Linked DNA regions of Homo sapiens: all the other regions are linked to region 2. Evidence: promoter capture Hi-C in human tissues and cell types (Jung and others, 2019). All regions are on one chromosome and are shown on one strand. Each heading gives the region's core, a stretch centred on a gene start or on the middle of the fragment in contact. The rest is flanking DNA. Distances are from core to core; before and after follow the strand shown. Region 1 overlaps UQCC1 (ubiquinol-cytochrome c reductase complex assembly factor 1). Region 2 holds the start of SPAG4 (sperm associated antigen 4). Region 3 has its middle 36 kb from the start of NORAD.

Region 1 (3,493 bases), core at 829-3,328, 290 kb before region 2:
GACTGGTATTACTGAATGTTTAATAATAAACTAAACAGAAGAAATCAGAGGGTTAAATGATGACTGCAATTCCTGTAATGACTTAATTAAATTTTTATTGAGTACATAAACTATGATGTCACCTCTAGCCAACCACAGGCCTGCTTTCCCAGCATGTCACAGGGAGGGAGCACTCAATAGGAGGCTTGGCTAAATGAGCAGCAGGTCTCAGCTGAAATGGGGAGGGGAGTGAGGCTCATGTAACACACTCAATAAATTATCCGTTCATTTTTAAACAAAGTCCATGAGTTATAATATATTTGCCATGCACTTTTTATGACATAATAAAAATGTTACCTTAAGGATTACTTAACACATACTACAAATATTATAGCAGAGGCAGGCACAAGGGGCAAAGAAAACAAACACGAGCAGGCCAGGGACGGGTCCTGGAGTTTATGTCCCAGGGGAAACAGCATAGTATATTAAAAAGGGAATGCAAAAAAAAGGAAGGGATGCAAGAGTTCAGGGTTACTAATCGGCAGATTAATGAATGAGACAACCAACAGAGAACACAAGTAAGGCAATAATGAATCTTGCAGGGCACATGTTTAATTAAAGTAGCATTCTCAAGGAGGAATATTAGCTTTAAAGAGATGCCAGTTCATTTGAGGCCAATTCGCTGCTCTCTTTCCCCTTTTCACTGTTGCTGCCTTAAAGATATTTATGTGACTGCTTAACAGAGGAACCAGACTATGTGGATACAGGGACTGATGGGAGATCAAGTTTTAACTCCTCCATGGACTCTACAAGGCTTCTAGTGATCTGCTCTTGGCCATCTTTTTTGCCTCCCCTCCTCTTGCCTCCCCATCTTACTTCACCCTGCAGTCAGTAAAGTATGTGCACAGATACATCATGCTGTCATCTATTTCTTAGTCATACTGCTGCCAGGAATTCTTCTCTTCTTTATCCACTGATGGAAGGGATGCTAACTCCTTATCCTCTAAGACTTAGCACACATATTTTCTCTACTAAGTCTGCCCTCTCCCCCATCTACAGGTGCCCCAAAGTGATTCAAGTCTGGAGACGGGTCCCATCATTCATTATTTACCAAGTGCCAATAACTGTGCTACAACTTTACACATTAGCCCACTTAAACCTTCCCAAGGACTCTAAGAGACAGGAACTGTTACTGTCTCCACTTTAGAGAAGAGGAATCTGATGTTTGGGAAAGTTAAAGCTAGACAGCTAGGAAATAGTGGGGTCAAGATAAGAATACAGAGCAATCCAACTCCATTGCCTACCTGTGTTGGAATAGACACTGGAAGGAATGTAGCTGCCCCTTCCTGTGCCCCACAGCTCAGGCTATCTGCAGAGGCAGAACTAAGAAATGCTAATGTGGTCTTGAGTAAACACAACTCAGAGATTCCAGTTCCAGTGGCAGCTAGAGACAGCCACCAGATGGGTCATCAGTGGCCGGTTACTAATACATCAGATATCCCTAGTAGAGCCAAGCTCCACTCCTGGGAAAACCTGAGGTTGAGAGTGGGTGTAATTATGGTGGGGGAATGGGAAAACAGAAGAAAGTTGGTATGGAAAACACTGATGAGCATGAAGGTGAGAATAAGCTTTAAGGTTACTGGCTTGAAGCAAAGTTGCTAACAGTAGCAGACTAAGAATTTGCTGGAATGAATGAATGACAAAGGACAGCTAGAGTTGCTGGCTGAAGCCTAAGGACTATATCAAATTCATCATAAGGCAACAATGCAACACAAGATTGTAGGTCATGTTTTAGTTTGCTGTAGTAGACAGTAATGCCACCACCAATGCTTTGCAGTGCCAACGCCATGTTCTACAGTCATTGTGCGGCAACAGGCTGATGTGCACTGAACATCAGCTAGCCTATTTAAAGTTCAGGTTAGAAATTAGCCCACTGTGGAATATTTTGTGAGATACTTAGAAACAGAGTAAGAGTAGACAGACAAGAGAGACGGGGGACATGGAGAGACCAAATAAAAAAGTCTACCTGTTAACTCACATGCATTACGACTGAAAGATCTATTGAGGGTCTTTTAGCAATGATGACAAAATACAAACAAAACTGTGTGTGTGTGTGTGTGTGTGTGTGTGTGTGCGCGCGCGCGCGCGCACGCTCAGGCACGCATGCATATTGAGCAGTTCCAGAAAAAGTTGTTAATACCAAGAATAAAAAGAAAAATATTTTAAATGAAAGACAATTTCTTTTTCTCTTTTTAGAAAATAATGTGAACATTTAAATAGAGTATGTTCCCGTTGCGATGAAAGGCCAACCTAAACCCAGCATGAGGAGGTCCATTTTAAAATCCATTTTAAACATTTCAAACTTTTAATGTACAAGGGAAGCTTGCTATGATGACATGCTGTTTAAAAATATTCCCTTATTGGCTGGGCAAGGTGGCTTACGTGTATAATCCCCATGCTTTGTGAGGCCAAGGCAGGTGGATCACTTGAGGCCAGGAGTTCAAGACTAGCCTGGACAAAAAAGTGAGGTCCTGTCTCTACAACATAGTAATAATAATACAAACCCCTTTCTTATTTATTTTGAAAATTCTAGTTTTGCTGCTTGGGATCTACATGTTCAAGACTGCATAGCCTGATAATGTGCTGAAAAACAAGGGACATGGTTGGCAGACAGAATTGCAGAACCAGCAGCCCTAATTTCTATATAGTCACGAAGTACAGGAGTCCTTCCCTCAGGCTTGGAAAATAGCCAAGAGAGAAGAGATGTATGTCCTCAGAAATTCTAGTCATTTGTCCAGTTGAGAAAACATGAGAACACATAATATTAAGTCCACAATCATCTTCAAAAGGAGCTGATGAGGTACACTACGGTTCTGGGATGATCAAACTACCATGGCAATTTAACTTTCGTCTCTTTTAGGGCATTTGAATAAGGGGAACATTATAGCTATAATCTACTTTGGTTTCTGGAAGCTTTTTGTAGTATTCCACATGACAAGTCTCATGCATACTCATTAGAGAAGCCAACACCTGGCTTGAAAGAGTCGCAGTTTCAACAACAGCACTGATGGTGCGGAGTCCTAAAGGAAATAATCCTGGGTACTATCTAAAATCCGTACTGATAATAATGATGACAGTGATGGTCGTAACAATGATTACACAATGCATTTAATAATATTTTCATTTTATTATCTTATTTGTGCCTCACAACCACAACCCTGCCCTCGAGGAGCTCACAGCCAAAATGCTATTGTTGTCCTGATTCTATAAACAAGGAAACAGAAGCTCAAAACTGTTAAGTGGCCAGGTGCGGTGGCTCACGCCTGTAATCTCAGCACTCTGGGAGGCTGAGGTGGGCCGATAACCTGAGGTCGGGAGTTCGAGACCAGCCTGGCCAACATAGTGAAACCCCATGTCTACTAAAATACAAAAAATTAGCTGGGCATAGTGGCGCATACCTGTAGTCCCAGCTACTCAGGAGGCTGAGGCGGGGGAACCATTGAACCCGAGAGGC
Region 2 (3,500 bases), core at 627-3,126:
ATAGCAAGAGTTTGGGGACCTCTAGTCTTCTGGCTGTGACCATCTGATTCCTCATTCTTTCCTCCATGGCTCAGGTGTGCAGCCTGAGTGTGGGTATGACGATTGGTGGGTGCTGAATTCTCAACCCACAGACCCCTGGGAAAAATGGGTCTGGAGGAGGGACCCACAGATCCTGAATGAGCTCTCTGACCTGATGTCTAGGATGAGAGGAGGGGGCTGAAGGGCTTGCAGAGCAAAGGGGACTAAGTATTTAGAAGTGCCCTGAGTGATGCCCTGCTCCTTCTTAACATTCATTATTTGCAAATATTTGAGCACCTACTACATGCTAGGCTTATCTAGGTGCTGGAGGATACAGTAGTGAATGAAAATCTGTGCCCTGATTAAGTTTATGTTCTAGTGGGCATGGCAGGCAATAAGGAAATAAATAAATGGGCCAGGCATGGTGGCTCACATCTGTAATCCCAGCACTTTGGGAGGCAGAAGTGGGTGGATCACTCAAGCTCAGGAGTTGAAGACCAGCCTGGGCAACATAGCGAGACCCCATCTCTACAAAAAATACAAAAATTAGCTGGGTGTGGTGGCGCAAGCCTGTAGTCCCAGCTACTCGGGAGGCTGAGGCGGGAGGATTGCTTGAGGCCGGGAGATGGAGGTTGCAGTGAGCTGAGATCATGCCACTGCACTCCAGCCTGGGCAACAGAGCGAGACTCCATCTCAAAGAAAGAGAGAAATGAAATATATAGCATGTTAGTGACACGTGCTGAGGAGAAAAACAAAACAGGGAAGGGGGATAGAAACTGGTATTTGCTAAGTGCAATTTTAGATGGGGTTTTCTAGGAAGTGCTGTGACGTCATCACTTGCTTTAAAAGAGGCCAGGCGCAGTAGCTGACTCCTGTAATCCCAGCACTTTGGGAGCCCCAGGCAGGCGGATAACCTGAGGTCAGGAGTTCACGACCAGCCTGGCCAACATGGTAAAACCCCGTCTCTACAAAAATACAAAAATTAGCCAGGCATGATGGCGGGTGTCTGTAATCCCAACTACTCGGGAGGCTGAGGCAGGAGAATCGCTTGAACCCGGGAGGCGGAGGTTGCACTGAGCCGAGATTGCACTACTGCCCTCCAGCCTGGGCGACACAGCAGGACTCTGTCTCAAAAAATAAAAATAAAATAAAAATAAAAATGCTGGGCGCAGTGGCTCATGCCTGTAATCCCAGCACTTTAGGAGGCCGGGGCGGGTGGATCACCTGAGATCGGGAGTTCAAGACCAGCCTGACTAACATGGAGAAACCCCGTCTCTACTAAAAATACAAAATTAGCCAGGCATGGTGGTGCATGTCTGTAATCCCAGCCACTCAGGAGGCTGAGGCGGGAGAATCGCTTGAACCCGGGAGGCGGAGGTTGCAGTGGACCAAGATCGCGCCATTGCACTCCAGCCTGGGCAACAGAATGAGACTCCATCTCAAAAAAAAAAAAAAAAGAAAGAAAGAAAGAAAGAAAGAAAGAAAGAAAGAAAGAAAGAAAGAAAGAAAGAAAGAAAGAAAAAAACTGTTATAGACTGAGTGCCATTTTAGATGGGGTTTTCTGGGAAGTGCTGTGACATCATCGCTTGCTGTAAAAGAGGCCGGGCGCGGTGGCTGACGCCTGTACTCCCAGCGCTTTGGGAGGCCGAGGCGGGAGGATCGCTTGAGCCTAGGAGTTCGAAGTTACAATGAGCTATGATCAGGCCACTGCACTCCAGCCTGGGCAATGAGAAAGACCCTGTCTCTTAAACAACAACAAAGTCAGAAGGAGAGGCTGCCATGGCTACGGCTCCAGGTGACGTCACGGCCAGCTCCGTGACGCGCGGCCAGGGCAGCCCGCGGAGACCGAGGCTCCTCTGTGACGTCAGCAGCCGGCCGGGACACAGCGGGAGGGCAGGTGCGGCCGCGGGGCCTGCCGACTTCACGCAGGGTCCGTGGGGTCCCCGCGGCGCGCAGCGGCTGAAGGAGGCCCCAGGGCCTTGGCGACCGCAGCGGCGGCTTTAGCGTCAGTGACTAGGCAGCAGGGGGTCAGGATGCGGCGAAGCTCCCGCCCGGGCTCGGCCTCGTCCTCGCGCAAGCACACGCCCAACTTTTTCAGCGAGAACAGCTCAATGAGCATCACCTCGGAGGACAGCAAAGGGCTCCGGTCAGCGGAGCCCGGGCCTGGGGAGCCCGAGGGCAGAAGAGCCCGGGGCCCGAGCTGCGGTGAGCCCGCCTTGAGCGCGGGAGTGCCCGGAGGAACCACATGGGCAGGAAGCTCTCAGCAGAAGCCAGCGCCTCGGAGCCACAACTGGCAGACAGCCTGTGGCGCGGCAACCGTGAGGGGCGGGGCCTCGGGTGCGGGCGGGGTCGACCCCGGGTGAGCCAGTGGAGGGGGCGGGGCCTAAAGGGCGGTGCTGGGCGGGGACGGGGCTAAGATGATATCTGGGCACCTCCTACAAGGTGGGTCCTGTAGGGTAAAGGGATGGTGCTAAATGAGATCCCTTAAGGGGCGGAGCCTCGGTGTCCTGGACGGTTATGGGAAGGGGCGGGGAAAATCTTGTGGTTGGGTGCCACTGAGGGGGCGCGGCCTCAATGTTAGCGTGAGTGGCTCCCAGGACAATTGGGTTCCACCAAGATCTAAGGCTGGGGGCGGGTCATCCGTTTGGGGGAGGGACCAACTCTTTTTTTTTTTTTTTTGCAACGGAGTTTCGCTCCTGTTGCCCATGCCATGCAATGGCATGATCTCGGCTCACCGCAACCTCCGCCTCCCGGGTTCAAACGATTCTCCCGCCTCAGCCTCCCGAGTAGCTGGGATTACAGGCGTGCGCCACCATGCCCGGCCAATTTTTGTGTTTTTAGTAGAGACGGGGTTTCTCCGTGTTAATCAGGCTGGCCTCGAACTCCCGACCTCAGGTGATCCGCCCGCCTCGGCCTCCCAAATCGCTGGGATTACAGGCGTGAGCCACCGCGCCCGGCCAGGAGACCAACTCTTGACGGAGCCTCCCTGAGGGGCGGGGCTTCAGAGGGCGGAGCTGGAGCCGGGATAGGGCTGCGGTGGGACCAAAGCCTGTGAGAGACTTCCCAGCTGTCTGGCTTGTGGACTGAGCAATCTGCGGCCCGGTCTCGAGGGGAAAATAGGTCTGTGGTCCGCAAGGCCCCAGTGGAGCCCTTGGGTTCCCGCAGAACCGACTGGGTCTCCAGTAGTCTCTGAGGAGCCGCTCGACCTTCTCCCGACCCTGGATCTGAGGCAGGAGATGCCTCCCCCGCGGGTGTTCAAGAGCTTTCTGAGTACGGGCCAGGCCAGCTGCGATCCCCTCTGACCCTCGGGTTCCCCTCTCCGAACTCCAGTTCTCTCTGAGCCCCCGGCCCCCGTTTGAGTATCGAGCCCCTCTCCGAGCCTCAACTCATTCCTAGCCCCCATCCAATTATCCTAGCCGACCCTCTCTTCCTGAGCCCCAGGCCCACCCCCGGCCCCTCCCAAGCCCCTTCTGAACCCGGAC
Region 3 (3,414 bases), core at 827-3,326, 470 kb after region 2:
TCACAGCTGTAGATTCACTGCAGCTTTGCTCTGTGTCTTTTCATTCCAGGGTCCAGGCTGAAGGTGCAGGCCCTATCCAAGACACAACATTTCCAGTGGCAGAGATAAAAAAGTAAGATTTCAGACTCAAACATGCAATGGCACTCCAAGTTTCTGCTTCGAACTGGCATGTATCTCTCTAGCTCACATTTCATTGGCCAAAGGAAGTCATGTGGTTAAGCTTGACAATGGGCTGGGGAAGTGCACTCCTTCCTCTGGAAGGTACACAAGTCACATGGCAACTGGCTAGGATGGATAATTCTCTTACTGGCCAAGGGAAGGGCAAATAATGGAGAAAAATAATACGTCAACCACAGGGGTTGAGTAACTTTCCCAAGATCAAACCACTGGGAAGGGACAGAGGCAGATTCAAACTCAGACAGTCTCCAAAGCCATAGTGAACTCCATGGCTCCCTACTGCCTGTTAGATGGAATCCAAATATATTTAAGCTTTAGGGCATTCCTGCAGCCTGGAGGGCCCTTCTACCTAATTTGTGTGCTGAATTCACTCTTTAAGGCTCCACTCCAATCTCAACTCCTTGGACTCACTCTTATTTGTCATGTGTTCCCTCTGCTCTAAGGCCCTTGTACAGTGTTCCCAAATGTTTGCAGTATTTTGGGATGAAAGGAGTGAGGGGCACAAGCTGCAAGTGGACTGTGCTCCTGAGGATGAGAGCACTTTGCCTACTTTTCCACCCCTCTAAACTAAGCTTAGTATCTTGTGCTTGGGTGACTCTGACAGGTCAGCCCCGCATGACTCACTCTGTAAGCCTTCAGCGCGGGTCACCACAAGGTCCTGGTTTAGGGTGTGTGAGTTGGTGGGTGGGGAGGGGAGGTGGAAATTAACTTTCACCTTTCAGGAACCTTTCCCTTCCCCAGGAGAAGGACAAGTGTAAGTCCTTCCCTTAAGTAGTCTGGGCAAGTCTCTACTCATCACTCCTAGGAGGACTGGGGAGGTCCTGGAAGGTGCAGAGGAGGAAGCTCTGAGAAGTAGAAACAGCACCAAACTGCACCATAGAAGACTTTACTAATTTGTCCAAATGACAGAATTTACCTTCTCTGAGCTTCAGTTTCCCCAGCTATAAAGTGGCAACAACACTGATCTTGCCCTCCTCCCTAAGTTGCTACAAAAAGACATAGTAAAAATCTTTAGGGTGCCGGGCAGGGTGGCTCACGGCTGTAATCTCAGCACTTTGGGAGGCTGAGGCAGGCAGATCACCTGAGGTTAAGAGTTCGAGACCAGCCTGGCCAACATGGTGAAACCCCATCTCTACTAAAAATACAAAAATTAGCCAGGCATGGTGGCAGGCACCTGTAATCCCAGCTACTTGGGAGGCTGAGACATGAGAATCGCTTGAACCCGGGAGATGGAGGTTGCAGTGGGCAAAGATAGTGCTACTGCACTCCAGCCAGGGTGATGGAGCAAGACTCCATTTCAAAAAAAAAAAAAAAAAAAAATCTTTAAGAATGCAGCCTTGAAATCGCACAGACTTGTACTGGAATCCTTCTCATAAGCTATGTGACTGAGAAAGTTATAGATCTTCATAAGCCATTACAGCTACCTCCCAGGGTGAGAAAATTATGTAAATAAATTTCCTAACATATACTAAGTACTCAATAATGTTGGCTATTCCTATATGAGATGATGAAACTTATTATTATATAGGGAAAGTCCCAGACGAGGACCCATTTTTGAACATTGAAAGGAGGGAGTACAGAGGCTAACTTTTCTTAGAATTGGTTGCTTCTTTTAGCCAAGTATAAGGTGTGGCTCAAAGGAATGAGGAAGCAGTTAATGAGGTGACAGGGCACAGAATACTGTTTGTCTTCACAGATCTTGGGGGAGGGATACAGTGGTTAGCTGACCTTCCCAAAAGATCAGAGATCCTGGTGTCTTGTCCACCCACAGATGCAGGCCACTTGACTCTGTCCTGTCCCCTCCTACCAGTCCAGTCACCACGTTCTGGTGAGGCTGCCTTTGAAATAATAATAACAATGGTACTTGTACTAATGATATTATTACTTTGAAGTGTATGAAGGCTTTCTAATACATCATCCCAGTTATCCTTCATTATCTCTCTCCCATTCACAGAATCCAGAGTTAGGAAGGATATTGCAGATCATTCTGCATTTTACAGATGGGATCTCTGAAATTTGAATAAAGGAAGGGATCTACTCAAGGGCTGGGATTTACCTGAGACTACACAATAAGTTAATGGCAGGGGCAGGACTAGAACCTGCAGCTCCTGACTACCAGCCTAGTGCCAGTGCCTCTTTCAAGTCACACTTGCATTGGCTTTCCATTCCCATGGCCTCCCAGTCTATTCTTTTTTTTTGTTTTTTGTTTTGTTTTGTTTTGTTTTGAGACGAGTTTCGCTCTGTCGCCCAGGCTGGAGTGCAGTGGTGTGATCTCGGCTCACTGCAACCTCCGCCTCCCGGGTTCAAGCAATTCTCTGCCTCAGCCTCCCAAGTGGCTGGGATTACAGGCACCCACCACCATGCCTGGCTAATTTTTTTGTATTTTTAGTAGAGACAGGGTTTCACCATGTTTGCCAGGCTGGTCTTGAACTCCTGACCTTGTGATCCACCCTCCTCGGCCTCCCAAAGTGCTGGGATTACAGGCATGAATCACCGTGCCCAGCCCCAGTCTATTCTTTTATCTCCTGGACCACTGCAGTGGTTTCCTACTGGTCCTGCCTGCCTCTGATCCCTCCCCACCCATTTCTTCTACACATACAGTCACATAATTGTCTGGAAGCACAGCTTTGATCTTGTCTTTCCCTTCCTAATAGAACTTGCCCATTTTTTCAACTTGAGAGGTCACCAGGATCCTAGTTCAATTTCCCAATGAAGACTTAATCTTTCCTTGAATACATATATTGACAAGGAGTTCATCACTCCCAAGGTGGTCCATTCCATTCTTGGGTAGCTCCAACTGTTAGGGAGTTCTTTATAGTGAGCTGAAATTGTCTTCCTGGATATCCCCCCACTGGAGGTGATGTGATGGAATTCTCTTTTTTTTTTTTTTTTTTTTGAGACCGAGTCTCACTGTGTTGCCCAGGCTAGAGTGCAGTGGTACAATCTCAGCTCACTGCAACCTCCGCCTCCCAGGTTCAGCAATTCTCATGTCTCAGCCTCCCGAGTAGCTGGGACTTACAGGCATGAGCCACCAAGCCTGGCTAATTTTTTTGTGTTGTTAGTAGAGACAGGGTTTCACCATGCTGGCCAGGTTGGTCTCAAACTCCTGGCCTCAGGTGATCTGCCTGCCTCGGCCTCCCAAAGTGCTGGGATTACAGGTGTGAGCCATCACACTTGGCCCCTTTTTGTTTTTTTTTTTTTTTAGACAGAGTTTCACTCTTGCTGCCTAGGCTGGAG

Evidence for each region. The method cuts DNA at HindIII sites, captures the fragments that hold promoters and counts their contacts. A contact is called where the count stands out against the background at its distance.
Region 1: a contact is called between a fragment that was not itself captured here and the fragment with the promoter of SPAG4 in region 2, in 1 of the 25 tissues and cell types used here (bladder).
Region 3: a contact is called between a fragment that was not itself captured here and the fragment with the promoter of SPAG4 in region 2, in 2 of the 25 tissues and cell types used here (aorta and dorsolateral prefrontal cortex).

What each region holds. Positions count from the first base shown.
Region 1 is chr20:35,319,172-35,322,664 of GRCh38, forward strand. All of the region lies in intron 7 of UQCC1 (ubiquinol-cytochrome c reductase complex assembly factor 1), which reads right to left. Among named protein-coding and RNA genes, the nearest start is that of FAM83C, 28 kb to the left of the region's middle. The HindIII fragment of the contact is 3,522 bases long and covers 318-3,493 here.
Region 2 is chr20:35,613,953-35,617,452 of GRCh38, forward strand. It overlaps SPAG4 (sperm associated antigen 4), which reads left to right and starts at 1,877. Exons shown (of 12, transcript NM_003116.3): 1 at 1,877-2,355; 2 at 3,184-3,288. The coding sequence starts at 2,052. RefSeq lists a silencer at 1,923-2,652 and enhancers at 3,083-3,352, 3,383-3,500. The HindIII fragment of the contact is 21,465 bases long and covers 1-3,500 here.
Region 3 is chr20:36,085,130-36,088,543 of GRCh38, forward strand. No RefSeq gene overlaps it. Among named protein-coding and RNA genes, the nearest start is that of NORAD, 36 kb to the left of the region's middle. The HindIII fragment of the contact is 7,451 bases long and covers 1-3,414 here.